Regions from separate parts of the Homo sapiens genome. Here region 1 is linked to region 2. Evidence: promoter capture Hi-C in 16 types of primary human blood cells and fetal thymus (Javierre and others, 2016). All regions are on one chromosome and are shown on one strand. The core of a region is centred on a gene start or on the middle of the fragment in contact, and the rest is flanking DNA. Distances in the headings are between cores, read along the strand shown.

Region 1 (3,646 bases), core at 1,058-3,557, 3.6 Mb after region 2:
GGCAGGAGAATCGCTTCAACCCAGGAGGTGAAGGTTGCAGTGAGCCGAGATCGCACCATTGCACTCCAGCCTGGGCAACAAGAGCGAAACTCCATCTCAAACAAAAAAAAATAAAAAGCAAATCGACAAAATTGACATTTTCCTCTTCTCTTTGAAAAATGTTGGACCATTTTAACCACAGGATACACTTTAAATATATTCAGAAAATATAATAAATCAACTAAAAAATTTAGGGCAAAATTGGTACATTCCACCTAATGATCTAAAATTATTTTATTTTATTTGTTTTTTTTTCTTTTTTTTTGAGATGGAGCTTTGCTCTTGTTGCCCAGGCTGGAGTACAATGGCACAATATCGGCTCACCGCAACCTCTGCCTCCTGGGTTCAAGCGATTGTCTTCCCTCAGCCTCCCAGGTAGTTGGGATTACAGGCACCCACCACCACGCCTGGCTAATTTTTGTATTGTTAGTAGAGACGGGGTTTCACCAGATTGGCCAGGCTGATCTTGAACTCCTGACCTCAGGTGATCCACCCTCCTTGGTCTCCCAAAGTGCTGGGATTACAGGCGTGAGCCACTGCACCCGGCCCTAATTATTTTCTTATTTAAAATAAAAACATCACGGGATAACTCCAGAACTGATTGGAATGGCTAATCTTTTGTCATTGATGCCAAATCTCAAATCATCCCCTCAGAAAGATCATCCCTGACTATCCTACTAAAGCTTCCTCCCCTTACTGTTTGTATCATTACCTTCAATTTGCTTCCTAATTCTTTTCACTAACAGGATTTGTATTTTCACATGACATGGTGCAATCTCACACACATAATTTTCAGTATAAATGCTGGACACCAAAGAATACATATCATATGGTTCCATGAAAGGTTCATAAATAGGCAAAACTAATCTATGGTGTTAAAAATCAGGAAAGAGGTTACCTTTGGGGAGGAAAGAAGGGATGGTGGTTGGGAGGGGTGCCCAGAGAGGTGTTCTGAAATGCTGTGAATCTTCCTTCTTGATTTGAGTAGTGGTTAGGAAATGTGTTGACTTTAGGATAAATTAACAAGTTACAACTTATAATTTGCGTACAGTATTTTTCTATATGGTATATTCCAATTTAAAAAGCATAAAAGGGGCTGGGCGCAGTGGTTCACCCCTGTAATCCCAGCACTTTGGGAGGCCGAGGCAGGTGGATCACCTGAGGTCAGGAGTTCGAGACCAGCCTGGTCAACATGGTGAAACCCCATCTCTACTAAAAATACAAAAATTAGCTGGGCGTGGTGGTGCGTTCCTGTAATCCCAGCTACTCGTGAGGCTGAGGCAGGAAAATCGCTCGAACCCGGGAGGCAGAGGTTGCAGTGAGCCAAGATCGTGCCACTGCACTCCAGCCTGGGCGACAGAGCAAGACTCTGTCTCAATTAAAAAAAAAAAAAGTGTAAAAGGAAATTACTTGGATGTGTTGACTAAAGGCTCCCTGTGAGCAGGGATCCTCCTGTCTTAGTCGTTGCTCTCTGTTCCCCACTTGTAGAACAGTGTTAGCAGAAGGCAGGTACCCAAGAAGTATTTGCTGAATGGAGCTGTGTGCGTCTGTGTGTACGAAGCGGGGAGGTACCCTAATTTTACTGAGCCCTGTGTGGTTAAAGATATTATGCGAGGCTTTTAACGACTCTCTTCTGCTTAAACCAGAAAAAGGGTTATTTGCGACTTTTTCCACCTGTAAATCAGAAAACAGTAATTTTCTAACCCATCCACTGGCCACGAAGTTGCTAGGCAGGCAGTAGATGCGCTTTTCGTCCTCCTTTGCCCTGACGGTGCATCTCGACAAATGCCAAGCCCGCCGTCCCCATCCCAGAACCGACTTTGCTCCTTTTAGTCTGAAAGGTCCTTCCACCGCAGTGGACACAACACCGGGGAGTGCAGCTATCCCGGGCGTGTATATGGGGCGAAAGGGATCCCTTCTCGCGTTTCTCCGCCCCTCCTCTTGAGGGCCAGGCCCTCAGAACCGCAAGGACAAGGGTGCCAGGACCGCCCCAGCCTGCAAGTGCCACCACTATCACCGCGTCCCCTCACCCGACCCACAAGCGACCCTGCAGGAAGGGCTGGGGAGGCCTCGCGTCGCGTCCCTGGGAGTGGAGCGGAGCTGGGAGACGGGTCGCCAGCTCTGCGCCGGCTCGTGGCGCGTCCGAGCCCCCGGCACCTCCCCACACTGGCCTGGGGTCCGGAACCTCCGGGATCCCATGCTCTTACCCCGCCGCCCGCCGGCCGCTGGGATTCGCGCCTGCCGTGGGTCCCAGGAAGGCGCATGCGCGCTCGCCCCCGCGGCGGACTGCCCCTCCGGCCTTCCGCCTCCGTGTGCCCGCGCACCACCCGCGCGCCCGGTGCGGGAGCGAGCCCGTCGAGCGTGAGGGGAGGGGCGGGCAACCTGGCCTGGACAGGAGGCGGCCGGCTTAGGAGGCGGGGCAAGAGCCGATGGAACCCGAGAGGTCCCCAGCCCCGGGTTAGGCTAGGGGCAGGTGGAAAGCCCCTTGCTCTTCTTTCCTGGGATCGTGGCCAAGGCCGGAGCGGCTGCTTAGCCAACGGATTCCTGTCAGGGGCGGGCCCTGGCTTGCTGCACTGAGCAGAGAGCCTTGGCCGGTCCTCACCACCTCTGGGCCTGTGCCCTCGAGGAGCCAGAAAGCCAACCTGCTTCACTTTCTTCTAGCCACATGCCTGCGAAGAAGAAGACTGGGCAGCCCCCTAAAGTAAGAAACATTGAACATCCAACCATTTGCGAGAGCCTGTGCGTTGTGCAAAAGGACAGCCCTGCCCTCGAGTAGCCACTACACGTGCCCCAGCGGGCAGCTTGAATCACCTGGTCCCAAACTTGCCAAAAATACCTATCTAGTAAGTTAGTAAGACCTGCACACTTTTCCTTTTGCATTGATCCCTTCCTTTCCAGTTCCACTATTTCCATCTCAGTCTAGGCTTCTGTCCAATCACGCATGGACGGCTGTGATGATTTTTACTTGCCTTCCTTTGTTCAGAGAGTGCCCTCATTCCCCACTTCTGAATCTTGCCATTCTACGTAAGCCAACCCCTATAATTTGTAAGTGTTAGCAAATATTTGGCTAGGACTATGGCTTTCTACTGAGTCTGAATAACTTCTCTCTGGGCCTCAGTTTCTTCAACTGTGAAAGAAATCAGTAGGGCTAGGTGAACTTCCAGGTCTAAAATATGATTATATCTAAAAGACCATCAGCACTGGGAATATGGAGAAATATGGCAGGTCCCTGCCCTCAAGGCATTTAATTCTCATTGGAAAGACATTTTTATGCATAAAAGGATAAAAAGCTATAGAAGGAAACACATACTAAATGTTACATTACTTACATATGCACTAAGCACTGTAGGAGTTAGGAGAAGAGGGTTCACTGTAAACTGCAAACCATCAGGAAATGCTTTTCCTGGAGGAGTCAGCTGAGCTTTGAAGGAAAGCCTGGCTGGATAAGCCCAGAGAATGAGAGTAAGAATCTAGACAAAGGAAATGGTTCAAGCCAAATATTGTGGCAGCTGAAAAGTGTAGAACATTTCCTCTAGTTTAGGTGGTGGGTGATGAAGCTGGAAAGGACTGGTAATTGTAGAGAGCCTTGAATACCAGGCTATGGTGT
Region 2 (3,832 bases), core at 914-3,413:
TTCAAAAGTTATTGAACAATTCTATAGAGGCTATAAGGCGCACGCACACACAAACCCCTCAGTTATTATTATGCTTTTAACAAAAGCATTTAGGAGCACAATCTTACTTCAACCAGTACCTTAAACGAACCAATGAACAAACTTCTTTGGCAATTTACATATACCTAAGAAATATAACCTTTTATTCAGTACCAACACCTGATTCAAATACAAGTAACATATATATATATACTATATAAACCTATCTGTTATGCAATCCAAAAAGGTACCTCTCAAAATGCACCAAGAAAATACTGTACTTATAACAATTTAGACTCTGGGGTTAGCTGACTGAAATAGATTAATACAACACATCCAAAACTAAAAAATTCTATATCTAACAATTTTCAGCGTCCATGAGTCTCTTTTGAGATTAGTTTATAAACTATTTCCTGAAATTTTTATTTAAAAGCAACAGCCTACACCATGTCTTTATGATGTGGTGGTAAAATTTTATGGATAATTACTAATTTGGTTGAAAATACCTACATCTAAAAAACTTAGCCTATTACATTTGGAAGCCCCACATCTATAGTGACAATCAGCATCATCTTTCGTTAGTTTCATTTTTTGTTATTAATGCCACTCTAAAACACTTATATAGGCTTTTGGTTCTTCAAATAACAGTTTTGGATTTTCTTTTCATAATTTTTACAGTTTTATCCAGTGGCCCCATTTTATCAGAATATTACAAACTATGATTATGGTTTTTACATTGATGACATGTTATTTTTATCTCACCCAAATTCTGGAAATTTTTGGCCCATCAGTTCTCAAACACTGGAACATATAAGAAGAGTAATATAATCTTATATTACTTGAGGGAGTTTGGATTTTCCCTCCCTTAATCTCCAAGTGTACCCCTGCCTACCAGCATCACATCCGTCTTGTCTGCATTGAACCTCAACCAGTTGGTTCTTAACCACGTCCGAAACTCAGCCAGGCACTGGGAGAATCGAGCGACCACACCATCTGGATCAAAGGAAAGAGAGCCTCAGTAGCAAGGAGACAGAAACGATGATACAAGCTCACCATCCACCCTGTTTCGCATTTTTAAAAAGATGGTCGGGAATCAGGACAAGGATCCCATGACAATTTTAGAAAAACATTTAATGAGCCTTAAGTCATGCAATTTGTAACTAATGATAAAGGAATAAAAGCGACCCAATAAATAGGTCGCCTCATTCCACCCATAAGTGAAGAAGGTTCAGTCAACTCCGGGTCATCTTGGTGAAGCGGCCTCAATAGCCAAGTCAATCTTGTAATTACATAAGTTCTTCTGCAGAAATGCAGAATTCTAGCGTTGGAGGAAGCTTTAAATAGGGAAAACTGAAGCCCAGAGAGGGATAGTGACTCGCTCAAGGTTACACAGCATGCAGGGACCACAGATAGGCTCCAGGCCAGGGACCTAGCCACTACAAGCTGAAAGAACAAGAGTAAAGAGCGGCGGGCATCTGTCCCAAGGGATCCTCCCACGCGCTAGGAGGACCTCGTTTCCTTACAGTAATACCCTATTCGAGTCTCTCCTCCCTCCCTGACTCCATCCGAAAAGGGCAAGTTGGCCCAGGGCGCTGCTCACCATAAAGGCTGCAGTGCAAGCGAGAGCCTCCCGGGGATGGGACACAAGTGAGGGAAATACAGGAGAAAGAGGCGGAGCCACAGCAGGGTGGTCAGCTTAGCCCCACCCCGACTGGGATCAGGGACCGAAGCGAACGGGGCGAGGCGAACTCACTCCGCAGCGGATTCCCAGCGCGGCGCCACCACCGCGAAGGCAAAAAGGCGGCGCTGGGAGGCAGTCGATGGCCAGAGGGAGGAAGCTGCGCATGCGCCTTTGGCAGCCGGCGGAGAGCAAGCCAGGCGCGTTCTGCGGCAGCCCCTCCCCGGAAGTTAAGGGTCTTCCGGGCGGTACACTGCCGTGGGGGAGGGGAAGGAGAGAAAGGGGACTGAGGACACCTCAGGAGCCCCTCATCCCAAACTGGAATAGAAGGGGAGAGATGGCTTGTGGAGGCTGCACTTACAGCCGCTGCCGCTGCTGCCGCCGCCACCTTCGCTGCTGCCGCCACCGCCTGAAGAAGCCCCATCCATCCGCCTGCAGCCGGGAGACTCAGAGCCTGGGAGGGGCCTGAGGCCCGGGCCGCCCGCCTCCTTCTTCCAGTCGTCGTCCGGAGCTTCCTCCAGCTCCACCAACCCTCTGCCCTCCCCTCCGCCTCCGCCCTCCTCCTCGGCCTCGTGCCGCCAGCCAACCGCGCGGCCGCTTGTTGAGCCAGGGCTCCACCGTCGCCATGACGCCCGGCAAACATTCCGGAGCCTCGGCCCGAGCCGCTAACGGAGGAGCTTGGGGGTACAGGGACTTCAGAGGCGGCCAAAAAAAGGGGTGGTGCACCACTCCCCAGCTGGTCGCCACCATGCCAGTCTCTCCGGCAGGCAGTCACAAGCAGCAGAACTTCGGGTTGTAAGTTCCGGCGCTAAAAACCGTAGTCCATCCCCCTGGGACCCGGAGGGAGCCCTTCTATTAATAGATACCATTTCTGGATTTGGAAAGGGGCCCTACCCTAACTGGGTTCAGTCTGTAGACCTTGAAGCTCCTAGGCCACAATGTCTCCTTTATCGACCTACCGCAGTCTTTAAAAGAATCTCTACTGGGCTGGGCGCGGTGGCTCACACCTGTAATCCCGGCACTTTGGGAGGCCGAGTGGGGTGGATCACCTGAGGTCAGAAGTTAGCGTCCAGGCTGGCCAACATGGTGAAACCCCGTCTGTACTAAAAATACAAAAAGTTAGCCGGACGTGGTGGCACATGCCTGTAATCCCAGCTACTTGGGAGGCTGAGGCAGGAGAATCCCTTGAACCCGGAAGGCGGAGGTTGCAGTAAGCCGAGATCGTGCCGTTGCACTCGAGCCTGAGCAACAGAGCGAGACTCTGTCTAAAAAATAAGATAAAATAAATCTCTATTGCTGTGCTTGCTGTGTGAGAAAAGACCTGGTTTAGAACCATCGTTCTAGCACTTCTAGTTTGTTAAGGCCTGCAGTCTCTCAAGCTTGATGCTTTCATGCTGTGCCCAGACGTTCAAGAGCCTCAGCTTCTGTGAGCCACCAGGCCGAACATTGCTGTGCTCTGTAGTAGAGGTATTTTATTGTCGTCTCGTCAATACCATCTTACTTTAAAACTAATTCCTGCTTCCAACATTCTGTTGTTATGCAGCAGTTGAACAAGACTGTAGAAAAGCACACAGCTGTGTGGACTTGTCTTACTTTAAATGGTTCCTTAGCGCTGCCCGTAATGCTGCCCACTAAGTTCCCCCAAAATTCCCTAAGTAATTTGTTTTCTCTTCCCCTCTCCAATCTCCTCCACCTCAGCTAATCTTTCTTCAGCGGAACTTGTTGAGAGTTCTTGGGAGAGAACCTTGCATTCTCTCTTGAATATGGTACTCACGCTTTTGTCCATCCTACCACTCCATCAAAACAGCTTCTATGAAAGCCAGCAATAGCCATGCAACCAAATACAATGGCTGATCCACAGTTTCATTCTTTTTGAATGAAGCAGTGTCGGTCGGGTTTATCGCTTCTCGATCTTTGAAAAGCTTTATTTGGGTTCTGAGAAACCACTCTTCCTAGTTCTTGTCTTGGTTCATGGTTTCACCTTTCCCAGATCCTTTGCTGGTATCTGTTCCTCACTACCATAACTAAATACAGTCATGCATCGATGGTGATACCTTCTGAGAAATACCTTGTTAGCCAATTTCAGCATTTTGCAAATATCTTCTAGTGTACTTACACAAACGTAGATGTATGGGC

What was found. Contacts are between HindIII fragments. The CHiCAGO score rates a contact against its expected background, and 5 or more counts as called.
Region 1: the fragment with the promoter of ALG6 here is called in contact with the fragment with the promoter of MIER1 in region 2 in 1 of 17 cell types (non-activated CD4 T cells); the score reaches 8.5 in non-activated CD4 T cells.

The regions. Positions count from the first base shown.
Region 1 is chr1:63,366,288-63,369,933 of GRCh38, reverse strand. It overlaps ALG6 (ALG6 alpha-1,3-glucosyltransferase), which reads right to left and starts at 2,307. Exons shown (of 15, transcript NM_013339.4): 1 at 2,247-2,307. RefSeq lists enhancers at 1,738-1,847, 2,708-2,847 and a silencer at 2,028-2,507. The HindIII fragment of the contact is 8,093 bases long and covers 725-3,646 here.
Region 2 is chr1:66,923,321-66,927,152 of GRCh38, reverse strand. MIER1 (MIER1 transcriptional regulator) reads right to left here and starts at 2,163. Exons shown (of 14, transcript NM_001077700.3): 1 at 2,058-2,163; 2 at 911-1,011. The coding sequence starts at 2,124. It overlaps DNAI4 (dynein axonemal intermediate chain 4), which reads left to right and starts at 2,297. Exons shown (of 17, transcript NM_024763.5): 1 at 2,297-2,491. The coding sequence starts at 2,322. RefSeq lists enhancers at 1,865-2,144, 2,435-2,594 and a silencer at 2,175-2,294. The HindIII fragment of the contact is 1,723 bases long and covers 1,355-3,077 here.